Linked DNA regions of Homo sapiens: regions 1, 2, 3, 4, 5 and 6 are each linked to region 7. Evidence: promoter capture Hi-C in 16 types of primary human blood cells and fetal thymus (Javierre and others, 2016). All regions are on one chromosome and are shown on one strand. Each heading gives the region's core, a stretch centred on a gene start or on the middle of the fragment in contact. The rest is flanking DNA. Distances are from core to core; before and after follow the strand shown. Region 1 overlaps KATNA1 (katanin catalytic subunit A1). Region 2 holds the start of LRP11 (LDL receptor related protein 11). Region 3 overlaps LRP11 (LDL receptor related protein 11). Region 4 overlaps LATS1 (large tumor suppressor kinase 1). Region 5 overlaps LATS1 (large tumor suppressor kinase 1). Region 6 overlaps LATS1 (large tumor suppressor kinase 1). Region 7 holds the start of UST-AS2 (UST antisense RNA 2).

Region 1 (2,700 bases), core at 14-2,513, 580 kb before region 7:
TACGGGCTGAGTTGTTTATTCCATTTTGTGCTGCTATCACAGAATACCACAGACTGGGTAATCTATAAAGAACAGGATTTTTTTCCCTCACAGTTCTGGAGGTTAGGAAGTCCAAGATCAGGGTGCTGGCATGTTCAGTTGTTTGGTGAGGGCTGCATCCTCTGGAGTAGAGGAACACTTTGTTCTCACATGGCTGAAGGAATAAGAGCAGGAAATCCAAATGCTGTGTGATACCTCTTTGTAAGGGCCTTAATCCCATTCATGAGGAAGGAACCCTTGTGGCATAATCCCCTCTCAAAGGCCCAACTTTTAATACTAGCACATTAGCTACTGAGTTTCAACACCTTGCTTTTGGAGGGACACATTAAAACCATAGCAGTAGCTGGGCTGAAATTAACCAGAATTAACCATAATTTGTCATTTACTATCCAGGTTTCCCCCTGGAAGTTGCAGTCCTCCCAATAGACTCCAGAGTTCCTAAATAGTTGCATCAAACAGATTCTGCAGGTGCAGTTTTTGTTTAGGTGGAAATACAGATTCTTGATGCTTCCTACTCTGTCAGTCTTCCACGATCCTGTCCCAATAATTGATTTTTATATGTTTATCTTCTATCTTGTCAGCTTAATACTATGCTAGAATTGTTCATTCTAGGAGAATTTTTGTAGATTCCTTAGTATTTTCTGTGTGGACAATTATGTTATCTGCAAATATTTCTGTATTTTTGGATTTCTATGCCTTTTATTTCCTCTTCTTACCTTATTGCATTGGCTAGAACTTCCAGTACTATGTCAAATATTTAAGAGTGACAAAGTAGATGTCCTTGCTGTGTTCCTGTTCCTGATTTTAGGAGGAAAGAATTCAATGTTTCATCACAGAGAGTATAATGTTAGCTGTAGGTGAGGTGTTTTTGTAGATGTTCTTTTTTTTTTTTTTTTTTTTTTTTTTTTTTTTTTTTTTGAGACAGAGTCTCGCTCTGTTGCCCAGGCTGGAGTGCAGTGGCGTGATCCCCACTCACTGCAAGCTCCGCCTCCCGGGTTCACGCCATTCTCCTGCCTCAGCCTCCCGAGTAGCTGGGACTACAGGCGCCCGCCACCACACCCAGCTAATTTTTTGTATTTTTAGTAGAGATGAGGTTTCACCGTGTTAGCCAGGATGGTTTTGTGGATACTCTTTATCAGGTTGAGGATATTCCCTTTAAATTCTATTTTTCTGAGAGCTTCTGTCCTGGATAGGTATTCAGTTTTAGCACATGCTTTTCTGCGTTTGTTGCATGATCACATGGGTCTTTTTCTTTAGTCTCTTAATATAGTGGATTATATTGATTAATTTTTGAACATTGAACTAGTCTTATGTCCCTGGAATAATTCTCACTTGGTCATGGTATGTAATTCTTTTTATATCTTGCTGAATTCTATTTGGTAATATTTTGTTAACAATTTTTGCATCTGTATATTCATGAATGATACTGGTCTATAGTTTTTCCTTTGTTTTGTTTTTTGGAACTGTCTTCATCTGATTTCAGTATCAGGGTAATATAGCCTTTTATAAAATGAATTGAGAAATTTTCCTTCTGTGCTCTGGAAGAGTTTGTGTAGAATTGATTTAATTCTTTTTTAAAAATTTTTTTTGAGACAGGGTCTCACTCTGTCACCCAGGCTGGAGTGCAGTGGCGCGATCTTGGCTCACTGCAACCTCCGCCTCCTGGGTTCAATAGATTCTCGTGCTTCAGCTTCACGAGTAGCTGGGGTTACAGATGCGTGCCACCACGCCTGGCTAATTTTTTTGTATTTTAGTAGAGACAGAGTTTCACCATGTTGGTCAGGCTGATCTTGAACTCCTGACCTCAGGTGATCCACCTGCCTCGGCCTCCCAAAGTGCTGGGATTATAGGGGTGAGCCACCACGCCGGGCCTTAATTCTTTTTTAAATGTTTCTACAATGAAACTACCTGGGCTTGAATATTTCTTTAAAACTATGAATCACCTTCATTAATAGTTATGGTACTGTTCAGATTATCTTCTTTTATTAGGTGAGTTGTGGTAGTTTGTGATTTTCAAAGAATTAGTCCATTTAATCCAAGTTGTCAAATTTATGTATGTAGCATTTTTGTAGGATTCCTTATGCTTTTTTTATTTTTTGAGATGGAGTCTCGCTTTGTCGCCCAGGCTGGAGTGCAGTGGCATGATCTTGGCTCACTGCAAGCTCCGCCTCCTGGGTTCACACCATTCTCCTGCCTCAGCCTCCCTGAGTAGCTGGGACTACAGGCGCCCGCCACCACACCCGGCTAATTTTTTGTATTTTTAGCAGTGACGGGGTTTCACCATGTTAGCCAGGATGGTCTCGATCTCCTGACCTCGTGATCCACCCACCTTGACCTCCCAAAGTGCTGGGATTACAGGCATAAGCCACCATGCCTGGCCATATTCCTTATTCTTTAAGTGCTTGCAGGTCTATAATGATAGCTCCTTTTTCATTCCTTATACCAGTAATACGTGTTCTCTGTCCTTTTTGCATTGTCAGTATTGCTAGAGGTTTGTCAATTTTTAATCTTTTTAAAAGACTCCTTTGTTTCATTGAATTTTCTCTATAGTTATTCTGTTTTTAACTTTATTGCTTTTTGCTCTTATCAATATCTTTTTTTTTCTTTTTTCTTTTTTCTTTTTTTTTTTTTTTTTGAGACAGAGTTTTGCTCTTGTTGCCC
Region 2 (2,700 bases), core at 157-2,656, 830 kb before region 7:
TAAAAAGCATTATGTTGCTTCAAGGTCATCTTACAATGACTGCAGTTGTGTGGGATGAGTATGCCATATGAGGAAGAATCTCCAGGCCGAAGTGGTACAGTCCAGACACAGCCTTTAGAGCTAAGAGGCCATTTCTTTTAGCCTCAAAAATCACTCAAATATACCCCTGCAAAAACTTTATAATTTCTCCCTTTGATGGAATGGCAAGTAACATTGAGCTTTTTTCTTTCTTTTCTATTGCTACCTTTTAATTTTACCTCCTACTCTGATCTGGATCTGCAAGCAATGGGTTCCTAAATGTCAACTCTGGAGATAATAAACACATAGCAGAGACTGATATTTTCCCACCAATTATTTATTCTTTCAATCCTAAAAAATACAGACACTTAACAGTGTTCTATTTACAATGTGCGCATCCAGGCAAAAATTTCCGGACAGGCTAAAAAGCAAGAAAATGCGATCCACAATCAGGAGAAAAATGAATCAACAGAAACTGATTCAGAAACAAACAAGATGCAGATGCTGCTCACAGAAGTCTAGAACGCCAAGGTGAAGCCCCCACTGGGTTGGACATTTTCTTATTCCTTATGTCATTTAAAGCACAACTCCCGAGATTTTACGTGATATAACCGCTAGAGGCCTCTCTGTCACAGGCTGTATTACTCCCAGGTCCCCATGTTGGCTGTGTTCAGATTTTTTGTTATATTTGTGGAAATCTGAGTGCATGTGACGACTGCTATTTATGGGTTTTGTTTTTATTTTTAAAGACAGGGTCTTGTTCTGTCCCCCAGGCTGGAGTACAGTGGTGTGATCACAGCTCATTGCAGTCTCGAACTCCTGGGTCCAAGCCATCCTCCCAACTCAGCCTCAGGACTTACAGGCGAGTACCACCTCACCAGGCTTGATTTTTGTGTTTTTAAACAGACTGAACATCTTTCAGTACTTCCCATCCCCACCCCTCCCGGCCCTGACTCCGCCACCCCAACCCCGCCCCACTTTGTACTACCCAAGCACATCTTGGGAACATGATGCGGAAAGTCAGGGACGCTGGAGGTGAAGGACTGATGACGCGCTACGGTGGTCCTAGGTGCGCGTGCCCCCTCTCTGGAGTAGTCCCGGGGGTCACGAGGATTTGAAGACAGGCCCTCCCTTCCCACTGCCCCCATTCCCCCGAATGCCAAGCCCCTGTGGGCAGGCGCCCTGGGCAGGTGTGGTTGGTTGCTAAAGCCTGCTGGGCCCAGACATGAACCCTGCCCTAGCTGGGCAGCGGCGCGGGAGCAAAGTTGTTCTGAGGCTGCCCTCCCCGGGGCCTGCTCTCCCAGCCCTGGAGGAGCCGGCGCGAGACGCGCGGGGGCGGGGCCGCGCGGGGGGGCGGGGCTCACCAAGGCTCCACCCCGCCGCGGCCACTGTTCGCACACACCTGGTGCTGATCAACGCCGAGGCCGACTCGTCGCCACCCAGCGCGCCGCAGGCCGGGGCGGAGAGGCGCAGGGCGCTGGGCAGTCTCCGGCGAGGGCAAGGAGCGGTGCCCGGCTGGGCCGGCTATGTCTCCCGCTACTGCGGTTCCCGCCGGCGCCCGCGACCTCGGGGGAGCAGCCGGGTTCGGGGGCGCCGCGCTGTGAGGCCGGGGCCTAGAGCCAGCCGCGGCCGCGCAGGAGGGGCCCAGGGCCCGCGCTCGCCCGCGTCCCCGCCTTCCTCCCGCGCTCAGCCCCGCCTCGGCTCGCTGCCCTTGGCTCTCGTCGCCATGGCCTCCGTCGCCCAGGAGAGCGCGGGCTCGCAGCGCCGGCTACCGCCGCGTCACGGGGCGCTGCGCGGGCTGCTACTGCTCTGCCTGTGGCTGCCAAGCGGCCGTGCGGCCTTGCCGCCCGCGGCGCCGCTGTCCGAACTGCACGCGCAGCTGTCGGGCGTGGAGCAGCTGCTGGAGGAGTTCCGCCGGCAACTGCAGCAGGAGCGGCCTCAGGAGGAGCTGGAGCTGGAGCTGCGCGCGGGCGGCGGCCCCCAGGAGGACTGCCCGGGCCCGGGCAGCGGCGGCTACAGCGCAATGCCTGACGCCATCATCCGCACCAAGGACTCCCTGGCGGCGGGTGCCAGCTTCCTGCGGGCGCCGGCGGCCGTGCGGGGCTGGCGGCAATGCGTGGCGGCCTGCTGCTCCGAGCCGCGCTGCTCCGTGGCCGTGGTGGAGCTGCCCCGGCGCCCCGCGCCCCCGGCAGCCGTGCTCGGCTGCTACCTCTTCAACTGCACGGCGCGCGGCCGCAACGTCTGCAAGTTCGCGCTGCACAGCGGCTACAGCAGCTACAGCCTCAGCCGCGCGCCGGACGGCGCCGCCCTGGCCACCGCGCGCGCCTCGCCCCGGCAGGGTAAGCGCGCGACTGAGGGGCCGGCCTTGGCCAGAGCGCTCGAGACCCGCAGCGCCCTCGCCAAGTTGGAAGCGAAACACACTCGTGCCAAGTTATTTTAGCCGCGGGCACCCAGAAGAGTTTCTGGCATGGGTTTCTCTGTCTTAGGGAAGAGGAAGCCCAGTAGTTTGGCAGAAGCGGGCGGGCGGGCGCGGTGACGTGCTACTGGAATTTTTCTAGGCTTGAAGAGAAAGGCTGATCTGAGAGGATTCGTGGAAATATGACTTAAAAGGGGAGAAATGCTGAGAGAAAAAAGTTTGTTTTAGTCTCATGGGTTGTATAAGGCATGGTTTGTGTTAAGTAA
Region 3 (2,816 bases), core at 77-2,576, 790 kb before region 7:
ATCATTAAATTAGAAGTACTGGTCTCTACCAAGAAACCAGTTTGCATCCCAGCCCTGTGACCCACTTACTTGTGTGAACCTAGGTACGAACCTGACCCTGAGCCTAACCAGAAAGAAAATTGAGCTATTTATACCTGCCATCCAGAGTTGTGAGAAAGAGAAAGAGCATGTCTAAATGCCTTATATATGCCCATTGTTTATTCTTCAAAGAAAAACCTTTCTGGTTTCTGCTTTTCATGGCGTGATATCCGGAGACTCCCTGTGACTCTTCTAGCCTGAGATCTCCCTTCTCCAAGAGGCGTGGTGGTAGTTCGGTGCAGGGTGTGTCTTCCGCTCTCTCTGTCGGTGGTTTCGTATTAGCTGCGTACTTTGCTTTATTCAGTGGGTCACCTTAGTTATTTACTGCTTAACTATCAAACATAGGCCTTTGTTTAGTAGAGAAATAAACAGTTCTTCTCTAAGTCCATCTTAAAAAAAAATAAGGCTGTATTTTCACATTTGTTTCCTGAAGTTTCTGATGCATACACCTTCAATATATGTTCTCTTTCTTTTCTGCAGATAGTAGTTCCTCAGGGAAGAACAGAAAAGAGGAAAGTTATATATTTGAGTCAAAGGGTGATGGAGGAGGAGGGGAACACCCAGCCCCAGAAACAGGTAAATGTCCACCTTGGAAACCCTTTGCAGACTGTAGTCTTCTCAGAACTGCATGCCCTCTGGCTGAGGATATTCCCTGAGGCCATGAGAGCTCAGGACAGGAGGAGTCCGTCAGTGGACCGAAAGAACTGTCTCCTCGTTGCTTGTATTGCACTGCGTCTTGGGGCTCCTGATAGTAACCTTCCATCTTTGGACCTCAGCTGCCTTTTCTATACACCCTTCCAGGTGTGACACCTGTGGAAAATGTCATACTTGTGGCATGGTGGGAGAACACAAGCTTTAGAGTCAGATGCCACAATTCAAATCCTTGCTCAAAGCTGGGCACAGTGGCTCACGCCTGTAATCCCAGCACTTTGGGAGGCCAAGGCAGGAGGATCGCTTGAGCTCAGGAGTTCAAGACCGGCCTGGGCAATATGGCAAAATCCTGTCTCTACAAAAAATACAAAAATTAGCCAAGTGTGGTGACATTCGCCTGTAGTCCCAGGGAGGCTGAGGTGGGAGGATCACTTGAGCCTGGGAGGTCGAGGCTGCAGTGAGATAAGATTGTGCCACTGCACTCCAGCCTGGGTGACAGAGTGAGACCGTCTCAAAAAAAAAAAAAAAAAATTCTCACTTACCCACTAAACTGTATGACCTTGAGCAGGCTATCTTATCTCTCTGGATCTCAGTTTCCTCATTCGTAAGATGAGGATAGTAACAATACCTGCCTCATAGGGTTGCTGAGAAGAATATATGGGATAATTAATCTCAAGCATTGAATGCACTGTGTGGCTCATATGATGAGCCAAATATAGAAACGATGGCAGTTATTACTCAGTTATTTACGATGAAAGAAGAGTAAAGGTCTTAGAATACCTAGTTCTCTTTCCAAGTGCCCTAGTGACAAAGACAGAAAACAACAGAAATGAGGGAAGGGTGTAGGAAGTAGAATATTTACTAAGTGGAAGAAGAATACAATAATTTCTTTAATTTTGGTTGATTTTAACTAGGAAGAAAAGACTTTGGAAACCATCCTTTAGAAAGGCAGGCTTTAGTCTTAAATCCCACAAACTAGTAAAAGAAGCTTTAGAAGAACAAAATATAAGCTTAAGTTATAAACATTGAGAAAACTTTCTTTTTACCCTATTTATAATATCAGGACAATATTAAAATATAATGTTTAAACAATAGATAGCTAAGAATACTCCAGATGTCAAGTACCTGGGTGACCCCCTTGGTCTGCTGGCCTCCTGGACTTAGCCTGTCCCAAGATATTTGAATAAAAGGGGCCCTGTCCCCTATCAAGGGAAGAGGGAAACCAGCCTGCCTCTTGCCTCCCCACACATATGTATCCAGAGAGTCTCAGCTCTAGTTGGCTGTTGCCTATTCTGGTTGTTACATATTTTTGTTTTGTTTTGTTTTTGAGACATCGAGTCTCACTCTGTTGTCCAGGTTGGAGTACAGCGGCGCGATCTCAGCTCACTGCAGCCTCTGCTTCCCGGGTTCAAACGATTCCCCTGCCTCAGCCTCCCTAGTAGCTGGGATTACAGGTGCATGCCACCACACCTGGCTAATTTTTGTATTTTTAGCAGAGATGGGGTTTTGCCATGTTGGCCAGGCTGGTCTCAAAACTTCTGACCTCAAGTGATCCTCCTGCCTCAGCCTCCCACCATGCTGGGATTACAGGTGTGAACCACTGTGCCCAGCCTGTTACATATTTTAAATGTCACCCCCATTCATATGAACAGAATACATAATTCATCACCCTAGCTGGTTACTGAGAATAGCATCATGGTGTGTTTTAGAAGGAGCTAGAAAGTTGTAAATCTCAAATTATCCAAACTAAGCCAACTAAATATTAAAAGTCAAGAATAATTTTCAATATTCTGGCAAGTACTTTTGGGAGATTTCATTTTCCTTGTCATAAAAGCATTAAACAGGAATCAGATCAGACAGTTCAGCAGCCTCATATCTGACTTAGCAAATAGAACATTTTCCCAGATCTCGTCTGTTTTATTGTTACCATAGCTAAACCTGAGCCCCGGCATTGGGATTGGCATCTTCAACCACAGCTTCATAACCCTTTAGCCTAAATGCTGATGCTCATCTTTAAGCAAGTCCCCCGGACTGGGGCTGGGTGTTGCGGTCCAATTCATGAGAAATGATTTGGGGTTCCTGGGGTT
Region 4 (2,700 bases), core at 96-2,595, 660 kb before region 7:
GCATCACTTTTTCTTTTAAGTTAAAAACAACAACAAAAAAAGATAGCTGGAATTATCCCTGACTGGAGTTTCACTAAACAAGTACAAAATAAGATCGATAATATTGCTAAAAGGGTAATTTTTTTTTTTTTTTTGAGACAGGCATGAGCCACCGTGCCCAGCCTGAAAGGATAATTTAAATCCTTAATCAGAGCGTACTCCTCCTCTACCTTTATCGGCTTCTTATTCTTCCAAATTCCTTGTCCATGGCCTGGCTACCTCTTAGATCCCATCCAATACCACTTTCCCCCTTCATTTACTGTTCTACAGCCGTACTGGGTTTATTTTGTTCTTGGAAAATACCAAGCTCCCACCTCAGGACCTTTATGCAGTCTTTTTTTTTTTTGAGACAAAGTTTTGCTCTGTCGCCCAGACTGGAGTGCAGTGGCGCTATCTCAGCTCACTGCAACCTCCGCCCCCTGAGTTCCAGTGATTCTTCTGCCTCAGCCTCCCAGGTAGCTGGGATTACAGGCATGTGCCACCATACCCAGCTAATTTTTGTATTTTTAGTAGAGACAGGGTTTCACCATGTTGGCCAGGCTGGTCTTGAACTCCTGACCTCAGGTGATCCGCCCACCTCGGCCTCCTAAAGTGCTAGGATTACAGGCTTGAGCCACCGCGCCTGGCCTGTGCTGTCTGAACTCATATATTATCCCTCAGAGGAGCCCTTATCCCTTTCTAGCCTCCTGTTACTCTCTATCATTTGATGCCATTTATGTTTCATTCACAGAGCATTTATCATACCCTGAAGTTACCTCATTTATTTATTCACCTGCTTTGTGTCTGGCTTCTCCTTCGAGAATGTAGGTTCATGGGCCACGGATGTTCTGTTGTTTACCAATGTCATTGGATTGCTTAGAGCAGTGCCTGGCATATAGTTGATGCACAATAAATATTTAATGAACGGCCCGGGTGCAGTGGCTCACGCCTGTAATCCCAGCACTTTGGGAGGCCGAGGTGGGCGGGTCACGACGTCAGGAATTCAAGACCAGCCTGGCCAGCATAGTGAAACCCCATCTCTACTAAAAATACAAAAAATTAGCCAGGCGTGGTGGTGGGCGCCTGTAATCCCAGCTACTTGGGAGGCTGAGGCAGGAGAATCATTTAAACCCGGGAGGCAGAGGTTGCGGTGAGCTGAGATTGCGCCATTGCATTCCAGCCTAGGTGACAAAGCGAAGACTCCATGTCAAAAAACAAACAAACAAACAAAAAACCCAAATATTTAATGAATGAATAAAAAGGAGGTGATCTCAGAGAAAAAGAATAGAGAGGGAAGAACAAAGTGATAGACCATGGATTTAAGTTGGATAAAATGTGTCATAAAGAAAGAGGAAGGCCAGGCTAGGCAAGGTGGCTCATGCCTGGAATCCCAGCACTTTGGGAGGCCAAGACGGGCAGATCATGAGGTCAGGAGATCGAGACCATCCTGGCTAACACGGTGAAACCCTGTCTCTACTAAAAATACAAAAACCTTAGCTGGGCGTGGTGGTGGGCGCCTGTAGTCCTAGCTACTCAGGAGGCTGAGGCAGGAGAATGGCGTGAACCCGGGAGGCGGAGCTTGCAGTGAGCCGAGATCGCACCACTGCACTCCCAGCCTGGGCGACAGAGCGAGACTCCGCCTCAAAAAAAAAAAAAAAAAAGAGGAGGGTCAAGTACGGTGGCTCACGCCTGTAATCCCAGCACTTTGGAGGCCAAGGTGGGAGGATTGCTTGAAGCCAGGAGTTCGAGACCAGCCTGGGTATATTAGGGAGACCCCGTCTCTACAAAAAGTTTTAAAAATAGGCTAGGCTTAGTGTCTCCTGCCTATAATCCTAGCATTTTGGGAGGCTGAGGAAGGAGGATCACTTGAGCCCAGGAGTTTGAGACCAGCCTGGACAACTTAGATACCATCTCTACAATAATAAATAAATAAAATAATTAGCTGGGCATGGTGATGCATGCCTGTAATCCCAACTACTTGGAAGGCTGAGGTGGGAGGATTGCTTGAGCCCAGGGGTTCAAGGCTGCAGTGATTCATGATCATGCCACTGCCCTCCAGCCTGGGTGACATCAAGACTGTCTCAAAAGAATAAAAATAAGAAAAAGGAGGACTGATAAAGTAGGGGATTAACCTTGGAGATGTTGGCTGGATGCGGTAGCTCATGCCTGTAATCCCAACACTTTGGGATGCTGAGGTGGGCGGATCACCTGAGGTCAGGAGTTCAAGACCAGCCTGACCAACATGGTGAAACCCCATTTCTACTGAAAATACAAAAATTAGCTGGGTGTGGTGGCACCTGCCTGTAATCCCAGCTACACAGGGGGCTGAGGCAGGAGAATCGCCTAAACCCAGGAGGCAGAGGTTTCGCTGAGCCGAGATCATGCCACCGCGCTCCAGCCTGGGCGACAGAGCAAGTCTCTGTCTCAAAAAAAAAAAAATAAAAATCTTGGAGATCTTGGTGAGGTTGCTACTTAATAAAGTTTAAAAACTTTTGCAGTAGGAGTAAACAGAAGAAGTAGTTGTGGTCTGGGAGTATAAGCGTATAAACCTTAAAGTAGTTATTCTGAAACAAGAGCAGATATGAGTAATACCAAAGTTTGAAATACAATCATGAGAATGATACTTGATGTGGAGTGGAAGAGGGGACGTCAAGAAGCTGAGATATGAGGGCAATAGATGGT
Region 5 (2,700 bases), core at 9-2,508, 680 kb before region 7:
TCATCCTCCAGAAGTTATTCATAAATCTAGTGAACAATAAGTATAATCTCATGCACAGAAGTAATATTGTATAACTCCAGTTTTGGAAATGGATTTGAATGTTAGCGATCATGAAACTTGTTTGAACTTTATGAATTATTTATTGAAGGTTAATAAATTTATCAGTTTATCAGTTTATCAGAAGTTTCTGATAAACTTAATTTTTTATCAAATTTCCTCCATGAGGAAGAAAAGGTAGGACATTATAATTGGAGTGAATGTTCTGTGCTACGAAAACAAAGCTTATTATCTCTGACGGTAAAATGGGGTAGTTGATTCCTTAAGGCAGTGGAGGAATTTGATTGAACAGTAAAAGAAGTAGCATTGTGTTAGTCCAATTGGCTGCTACTGCAAGAAACTAGATCATGGTCCATGCTTGGAATGGCACATTCTATGCCTAAATATTGATGGAATATGCCTTGCTGCTCACCAAAAAATACTTCTACTACATTTTTAATGTATAATATCTGGCTTTCATTGTGTAGGTCGTTTTTATTTTTGTTTTGTTTTTATTGCAAGTCCTTGTTCTATATAAATAGTGTTGGAACTGTTCTAACCCTGGTTATTTGGTTATTTTAGATGTTTTATTTACATCAATGGGAGATTGTTATACATCACAAAAGTTATTTAGTCATTGAATAACATTTTCGCTAAGTAGGAACAGCAATCATTTTTCAGCATGAAGATACAGCGTTGCTTTCACTTTTGATCTGACAATTATTAGAAAGTGAACTGAAGAAAATGTCAGTATGCAGTTTCCTTTAAAGATGGGAACTCGCTATGTTGCCTGCGCTGGATTCCAACTCCTGGACTCGAGCAATCCTCCCACCACAGCCTCTCAAGTAGCTGGGACTACAGGTGCACTACTGCACCCAGCCAGGGTACCTTTCTGATAAACTTAATTCAACCCAAATTAACACTTTGAAATCTTATGTAATGGTATCATTTTTTTTTTCCTAAGTTGGACAAACTAATCAATGATACTTGTTTGTTGATGTTTGTATTTTTGATGAGGGTCTGAACTTTAAAAAAAAAAAAATGGCGATCTGTCATACCCAGGCAGTTTGATTCCAGAGCTCTTACTTTAACCATGAGATTAAAGTCATTGAAAGTTATGGGGTAGGTAGGTGACATGATCAGAATTGTTTATTAAGACGAATCTGGCCCCATCGTAGTGTGGGTTAAAAAGGTAAGCAGTTTTGCTTTGAAGAATTATTTTAAAAATTCTTTTTGCCTAGTAATAATTTGAATTTTCACATGTCATAGCAGCAAAGATTGTTGAGATTTAGTAATGCCAGTATTAACCATACCTTGTTGTGGGGATTATAAAATTAGTATAACTTTCTAGAAGGCATTCTGACAATAAGTATCAGAATTTTAAATATGTATTCTCTTTGATCCAGCAATTCCACTTCTGGGAATTTATTTTAAGAAAAATGCTCAGCAATGTGTGCACAAGAATTTTTATTGCAGCAATTTTTTTATTAACTAATTTCGTTATGTGCAAGGAATATGCTATATGTATATTATACATATGTTCATTTTATTAAACTATGAGGCATAATAAAATGAACATCCATGAACTTACCACCTGAACTCAGAACAAGAATATTACCAGTATAATTGAAGTTACCAGTTTGCAGTATTATTTTACATTAGCAAAAAAATGAGGAACAACCTAAATGTCCATCAGTCAGGGATTTATAAGTAATAGTACATCTAGCCGGGCGCAGTGGCTCACGCCTGTAACCAGCACTTTGGGAGGCCAAGGAGGGCGGATTACCTGAGGTCTGGAGTTCGAGACCAGCCTGGCCAACATGGTGAAACCCCATCTCTACTAAAAATACAAAAATTAGCTCGGTGTGGTAGCGCGGGTCTGTAGTCCCAGCTACTTGTAAGGCTGAGGCAGGAGAATCACTTGAACCCGAGAGACGGAGGTTGCAGTGAGCTGAGATGGCACCACGGCACTCCAGCCTGCGACAGTGAGACTCTGTCTCAAAAATAAATAAAGAAATAAAGAAATAATAAATAAATAAATAAAAAATAGTACATCTACATGATGAAATTCAATATCGGTATTTAAAGGAATAAGGTTGAACTATCATACTTTATCAATTCTGAAATACCACTAAATCTAAGATAAGCCATCTATTTAGTAGCAATTTTTTAGCAGGAAGAAAGTAAACATAAAGCTTTTATTAATAATAGCATACATTTATTCATTCAATTGTATACCATTTTCGTCTGTCACAATAAAGTTTGAGTCTCAGCCTTATTCACATTCAGAATCTAGGATCCTTCTGAATTACTTCGGTTAGTTAATGCAACATCATGATAACAGGCTGCTTTTCATAATGCTAGTTAATTATCTTAACCTATATTGTCTTTATGATTGTGTGTATAATTTTAAGGTATATTGAAGAATACTGGGGTTTTGCTTGCCTTTCATTTTTGCTTACTTAGTTTTTTTTTCTTCTTCTTAATTGAATTACCTATTGCTGGAAATTAAACAGCTTCTTCTGAAGATAACTCCAAAAGTTTTGGCAGACTTTTGAGTCTGTCTTACCTTTGAAAATTCTGTGATCTTGCTTGAATTTAATAATTACTTATGCCTTTAATTGCATTGTCTATTGAATGACAGTTTGAGTGCACAATACTATG
Region 6 (2,998 bases), core at 158-2,657, 630 kb before region 7:
CAGATAATTATTTTAATTTTCATATACTTTTCCTGTATAGTAACTATTTTGATTATATCATCAATGTTACCTGTTTCCTCTTTCAGAACAGTGCTGCATATACAGATTGTTATTGGCAAAGGAAAATCTGGCTATCTGGCAATATTTTACCTAAGCGCAGATTAATTGGTGAAAAAATTAACTCTTAAGATGGCCATTAATAATTAGGAAAGTTTACAGAGTGGTCTTAGTAGAAAATTCAAGTCCTCCTAATTTATTTAAGGTTCAATAATGCGTTCAACATGCCTGTTATGTATAACGCTTAGGTTCTAAGGAAGATTAAGGTTTCATACCAAAATACATGTAGCTTATCTTTTAGGAAGGGGAAAAAGGCTCCATTTTGACCATAGTAAAATTTGTGTTGTGTTTTATTTCCTTTTCTTAAGCTCCACTGATAAGGGATTGTTTTTATCAAAAGTTACTATTTGTAGATTGGAGGCATAATTTTAGTGATTTTCATACTTTTAGCTTTCTTCGCATAAAAGCTAATTGAAACCGTATATGTAGTAAAATTAAAGGCAGAGCTGTTGCAGTTGAATTGGAGAGTTAGGGCAAAGAACACTTATTAGCCCACACTTCCCACCTTTCTACAGGTGGTCCTTTCAGAGCTCAGCCTGAAAACCCACTACTGTGTTATCGTGCGTCTTTTGGGGTTAGTGGTTCTTTTGAGAATCTGAAGGAAGCTGTGGACTCTTCCTAGAAAAAAAAACCACACATACACATACAATGTTGCATGCAGTTTCAAGGGATTTTGGACATATTGAAACCTATCACAGGCTGTAGGTTATGGACCTCTGTGCCATGAGAAAATTGATACATTAAACTAAGAACTTTGTTTTTAACTTACCAATCACTACTCAGCACATCTTATATAAGCTGATAATTTGTGATGGAAAAGGTCTGTAGCATGTGATATAAGGTGACCTTATGAATGCCTCTCTTGCTGGTACATTAAGTTGTTTTAATATATCATTTGGAGGGGACTGAAATGTTAGGCTCATTACAAGCTTGATACAGAAATATTTCTGAAGGATTTCTAATCAGAATTGTAAAACAATGTGCTATCATGAAATCGCAGTCTTCACCTCATGGTTCATGGAACATTTGGTTAGTCCCATAAAATCCTATGCAAAACAAAGTAGTTCAAGAATTTTTAGGTGGGTAGTCACATTTATAAGGTATTCCTCTTACTCTTTGGGCTTTTTCAGTCTGATTTATTTAAATTTTCATTTAGTTGTTTTACTTTTGGACTAAGGTGCAATACAGTAGAAGATAACTTTGTTACATTTATGTTGTAGGAAAACTAAGGTGCTGTCTCCTCCCCCTTCCCTTCCCACAAAATCTGTATTCCCCCTATTGCTGAAATGTAACAGACACTACAAATTTTGTATTCTTTTTTTGTTTTTTGTTTTGAGACAGGGTCTCACTCTGTCACCCAGGCTGGAGGGCAGTGGCGCTTCACAGCTCACTGCATCCTCAACCTTGGGGGCTCACGCAGTCCTCCCGCCTCAGCCTCCCAAGTAGCTGGGCATGCGCCACCAAGCCCAGCTAATTTTTGTATCTTTAGTAGAGATGGGGTTTCGCCATGTTGCCCAGGTTGGTGTGGAATTCCTGGGCTCCAGTTATATGCCCACCTCAGCCTCCCAAAGTGCTGGGATTACAGACGTGACCCACCGCGCCTGGCGCAAATATGTATTCTTTTAAAATTTCCTCTGATACTATAAGCTTTTTGCATTTATCTGAAGCAGTATACATGCCTTTGGTATCAGCAATTTTAACAGTTTGGATATACTTATCAGCTATCTTATTCCAAAACTACATCTACTTCTTCCAGTATAGAATCTGGTGCTTCCTGACCAAAAAGATGAGAAAAACAATGTTAAAAATATAGATGCTTTCCATTGAAATGGAGTGAAAACATTGGTTCTATATGTTTTCTTTTAAAATAATTTTCTTATTAAAAACTTGCTGTCTTTATTATACTTACCCTTTTTATGCATATCAATAGTATTTATAAGATGTGTTCTATAATTATGTAATTGTAGATACTGTTATGCATTGTCCAGTGACATCATAAGGCAGGCCCTACTGCTGTATCTTTTCTACCTTCTTATTTGTAATAGAAACTATAGAATGTATGACTAAAAAGTCACTTTGAGATTGACTTTTTTAAAAAGTTATTACCTTCTGCTGTTGCAAAGTGCAAAACTGTGAGTGGAATTGTTTTATTCTGACTTAATGTGTTAGAAATTAGAGAATACAGTGGGAGGATTTTTAGACATTGCTGCTGCTGTTACCCAAGGTATTTTAGATAAAAAATTTTTAATAAACATCCCTTTGGTATTTAAAGTGGAACATTTAGCCTGTTCATTTTAATCTAAAGCAAAAAGTAATTTGGGTCAAAATATTGGTATATTTGTAAAGCGCCTTAATATATCCCTTTGTGGAAGGCACTACACAGTTTACTTTTATATTGTATTGTGTATATAAGTATTTTGTATTAAAATTGAATCAGTGGCAACATTAAAGTTTTATAAAATCATGCTTTGTTAGAAAAAGAATTACAGCTTTGCAATATAACTAATTGTTTCGCATAATTCTGAATGTAATAGATATGAATAATCAGCCTGTGTTTTTAATGAACTTATTTGTATTTTCCCAATCATTTTCTCTAGTGTAATGTTTGCTGGGATAATAAAAAAAATTCAAATCTTTCAATTATGTGTGGAAAGCTAATTTTTACACTGCTTAACTATGTTGTTTTCTGATTCAAAAATTTATGTAAATCTTTTTATTCTCTGAGAAAGTTATGATTAAAATTTTGATGCTTTGGAATTAAAATAACTAATGATAGTACTTAGGTTAAGGCAAACTGAGTATCATGTAAATGTCAAATGTTTTCATTTAAATGTTTTCATTTTGTCCAATATAAGTACAATATTTCCTGTTAAAGGCTTCC
Region 7 (2,700 bases), core at 149-2,648:
GAAGTAAAGGTAATGGAATAAGAGAATGAGATCATGACCCCAGTAAATCAAGAAACAGCAGCCTGTGCATACTAGTTACAGATAGCGCGGTGATTATCCGAAGAAACATCTAGCTGCGCTGAAAGTGATTGGCTCTGCAACATCAGACTTCATCTTTGGGAGGGTTGGAATAGGAAACTGCTGGTTTTCATTATACATCTTATAGGACTATTTGATTTTTAATTATATACATGCATTACTTAATAGATATAGCAAAAAATGCAGGGAGGTAAAATCCTAGGAACACATGTTTTGAAAAACAGTTCTGGTAGAGTCTGGTTGACAATGCAGCAGAAGCATCTAGAAGCGTATGCTATGGTAAAGACGAGGGGCGGGGTGAGACCTTCAAGTCAAGTGAAACTACCCCACCTGACAAACAACCCTCTCTTCTTCTCATCAGTGTGGGATTATGTTGGATTTTTCTATGCGTTTGTAGGTAATGAAATGAACGTGCTTACTAGAACCCACAAGAAACCACACATAAAAATCCCCAGCAATGTTATATACACAGGTATATTTCTAGCTTTTTGCTGTATTCTTTCACAATTCTGTGCCATTTGCAAGATGTGAAAAGCTAGGACATTATGTATTGATAAAAATGTCTGAGACATGAAAAATATACAGACCAAGAAATATTTTTATTTGAAAAAGATTTAGCCAGACAAAAATAGAAGCTTCCATTATAAAATGTTGAGTCATGCAAAATGGGTAAGGATTGTACTTCGCCCCGGCAGGGGGTACATTTTATAAGCAAAGAATGTCAGAGAGCTAAGGCCACGAGCCAAGGGCCCAAAGACAGTTTTGAAATCCTTTGTCTAGTGCTCTTTCCACATCACCACATTAATTCCTGGGGTGGACAGGGACCTTGACAATTTAAGCATAAAAGAACAAACTGACCACAAGGTCGTTTTTATAAAGATCAACCATCAACCCCTGGGGTCAAGTTTCCAATCTTTGCTCAAGCTTTAGAAGCCTTTCAGCTTTGTGGCGTTATCAGGAAAGTCCAAAAATTGAAATTTGTGGTGACTAATTCCACCCCCTACAAATACTCAATGCAGAGCATATTACTGTCAGCTCAGCTAAAAACTGCTCAAAGTAGAAGTGATTAAATTCTAAAGTAGAAAAAAATTCACCTCCAAACACAGAAACACACTGGTACCTCCCCCGCACACCCAGATATTATTAGCCAGCTTTTTGCCTGGGGAAATGAATCATGAGACAGAAAACTGTACAACCCCCAAGTCTGACCACACTGAGTAACTGGGGTAGACACAGAGGGGGGCATCTGGGGCTCTCCCGAGGCCAAGGTTGGGACCCAGAAGAGATGAATTTCCCTGGGTGCACAGGGTGGGAGGGAGGTGGGGCTGGAAGAACTTGATCTGGAGGGATGATCCCGAAGGCTCCCAGTGAAGAAGGCCAGGAAGAGCAGAGGATGGTGCCAGGAGGATGATGTCGGGGGACACAGGCAGCTCATGCCTGGATCAGGCAGTGACTGGTAACAGAAGGAGAGTCCATGCTGGTGGGCCCAGGGGAACATAGGTGGTCAAGCAGGGCAGTACTTGGTGTCTGGGGATGCAGTGTGCGACCTCCTGTATTCGGTGCGAGGCACATGGGGCCAGCAGGAGCTGGTGTGAGCCCGGGTCTGAAGGGTGGTGGGATCTTAGTGGGGAAGACTGGGAAGACAGCAGGGAGGAAGAACTCAGGCTGGAGGAGGATGGGGGCCTGGGAGGATCCCTGCCACACTGTTAGGAAGCCAGGGAGCTTGGGTGGTGGTAGGATGGGAAGAGGGCAGGGAAACGGGGGGAGGGTGACACAGGCCCTCCGGCAGCAGCGGCTTGGCCACTGGCGCTGAGATTGGTATGAGTGACTCAGTGCCAGGTTGCGCCACAGAAAGCTGAGGCTGCGGATCCTTCTCCTGCCTCTGGTAGGGCCGTCTTAAAGGCAGGGTGAGTGAGCCTGGCTCCAAGAGGCTGGGTCCGCAGGCAGGGGCTGACGTGGGCTGGCCCAAGCCCCAGCTCTCCTCACTCTGAGTGCTTCTATGCTTTCTCACCTCCACGCTTCCAATCATGTTATTTTCCTCTTATTAAAATGCCTCCTTCCACGTCCACTTGGCAAACTCCTACGCACCCTTTAAGGCCGGGCACAAATGTCTCCACAGGGTTATGCGCCCCAGCCCTGTTAGTGACGGCCTTCCAGCTAGACAAGATTTTCATCTTTATACTGCCCTTCCCCAGGAAAGGGACATCACAGACACTCAGCTATTTATTTGCTGGAGGTGTTTGTTGAATTTTTCTGGTAGTTTCAGATTACACCTATTTAAATATTAGTTTTCAGAGAAGAGAAATATTTTTGTAAAGTTATTCCTAGAACATCAATGTCTGTGAAGGAAGTTCTATTTTCCTGTTAATCTTTCATAATAAAATTGGAAATGCTTTCTCCTGGAGGAGAGATGATCCCAACGCAAGAACAAATCAGTAAGCAAGAGTAAAACATGTTTTCCAATAAAACAAAGAGTAATAGTTGAAATAGGCCAAACGCACATATATTATGCTGCAATTTAAGCTTTCATAAAGTAAATTAAACAAGCCTAGAGGCTGAATTCTTGTGAATTGGTGATGTTTCTGTAAACTGAATGATGTTATCAGCCTGTGGTTATACAGT

What was found. Contacts are between HindIII fragments. The CHiCAGO score rates a contact against its expected background, and 5 or more counts as called.
Region 1: a fragment that was not itself captured here is called in contact with the fragment with the promoter of UST-AS2 in region 7 in 2 of 17 cell types (naive CD4 T cells and naive CD8 T cells); the score reaches 5.1 in naive CD4 T cells.
Region 2: a contact is called between the fragment with the promoter of LRP11 here and the fragment with the promoter of UST-AS2 in region 7, in 3 of 17 cell types (naive CD4 T cells, naive CD8 T cells and total CD8 T cells). The highest score is 6.7, in naive CD4 T cells.
Region 3: a contact is called between a fragment that was not itself captured here and the fragment with the promoter of UST-AS2 in region 7, in 2 of 17 cell types (naive CD4 T cells and erythroblasts). The highest score is 6.0, in naive CD4 T cells.
Region 4: a fragment that was not itself captured here is called in contact with the fragment with the promoter of UST-AS2 in region 7 in 5 of 17 cell types (total CD4 T cells, activated CD4 T cells, naive CD4 T cells and 2 more); the score reaches 8.2 in total CD4 T cells.
Region 5: a contact is called between a fragment that was not itself captured here and the fragment with the promoter of UST-AS2 in region 7, in 3 of 17 cell types (non-activated CD4 T cells, activated CD4 T cells and naive CD4 T cells). The highest score is 7.6, in non-activated CD4 T cells.
Region 6: a contact is called between a fragment that was not itself captured here and the fragment with the promoter of UST-AS2 in region 7, in 1 of 17 cell types (activated CD4 T cells). The highest score is 5.5, in activated CD4 T cells.

What each region holds. Positions count from the first base shown.
Region 1 is chr6:149,611,437-149,614,136 of GRCh38, reverse strand. The region is part of intron 4 of KATNA1 (katanin catalytic subunit A1); the gene reads left to right. Among named protein-coding and RNA genes, the nearest start is that of KATNA1, 36 kb to the left of the region's middle. The HindIII fragment of the contact is 3,516 bases long and covers 1-2,700 here.
Region 2 is chr6:149,863,065-149,865,764 of GRCh38, reverse strand. LRP11 (LDL receptor related protein 11) reads left to right here and starts at 1,406. Exons shown (of 7, transcript NM_032832.6): 1 at 1,406-2,357. The coding sequence starts at 1,745. RAET1E-LRP11 (RAET1E-LRP11 readthrough) reads left to right here. Exons shown (of 15, transcript NR_182438.1): 8 at 421-549; 9 at 768-880. It overlaps RAET1E-AS1 (RAET1E antisense RNA 1), which reads right to left and starts at 2,267. Exons shown (of 2, transcript NR_045126.1): 1 at 1,383-2,267. RefSeq lists an enhancer at 1,095-1,595 and silencers at 1,252-1,701, 1,772-1,831, 1,972-2,081, 2,252-2,401. The HindIII fragment of the contact is 13,305 bases long and covers 1-2,700 here.
Region 3 is chr6:149,824,102-149,826,917 of GRCh38, reverse strand. It overlaps LRP11 (LDL receptor related protein 11), which reads left to right. Exons shown (of 7, transcript NM_032832.6): 6 at 559-654. RAET1E-LRP11 (RAET1E-LRP11 readthrough) reads left to right here. Exons shown (of 15, transcript NR_182438.1): 14 at 559-654. Among named protein-coding and RNA genes, the nearest start is that of RAET1E-AS1, 38 kb to the left of the region's middle. The HindIII fragment of the contact is 786 bases long and covers 934-1,719 here.
Region 4 is chr6:149,686,853-149,689,552 of GRCh38, reverse strand. The region is part of intron 3 of LATS1 (large tumor suppressor kinase 1); the gene reads left to right. Among named protein-coding and RNA genes, the nearest start is that of LATS1, 30 kb to the left of the region's middle. The HindIII fragment of the contact is 3,336 bases long and covers 1-2,700 here.
Region 5 is chr6:149,714,427-149,717,126 of GRCh38, reverse strand. All of the region lies in intron 1 of LATS1 (large tumor suppressor kinase 1), which reads left to right. Among named protein-coding and RNA genes, the nearest start is that of LATS1, 2.3 kb to the left of the region's middle. The HindIII fragment of the contact is 1,950 bases long and covers 284-2,233 here.
Region 6 is chr6:149,657,912-149,660,909 of GRCh38, reverse strand. It overlaps LATS1 (large tumor suppressor kinase 1), which reads left to right. Exons shown (of 8, transcript NM_004690.4): 8 at 1-2,757. Among named protein-coding and RNA genes, the nearest start is that of KATNA1, 11 kb to the right of the region's middle. The HindIII fragment of the contact is 718 bases long and covers 1,049-1,766 here.
Region 7 is chr6:149,031,359-149,034,058 of GRCh38, reverse strand. UST-AS2 (UST antisense RNA 2) reads left to right here and starts at 1,398. Exons shown (of 2, transcript NR_134599.1): 1 at 1,398-1,534. The region is part of intron 7 of UST (uronyl 2-sulfotransferase); the gene reads right to left. RefSeq lists an enhancer at 805-994. The HindIII fragment of the contact is 1,599 bases long and covers 1,005-2,603 here.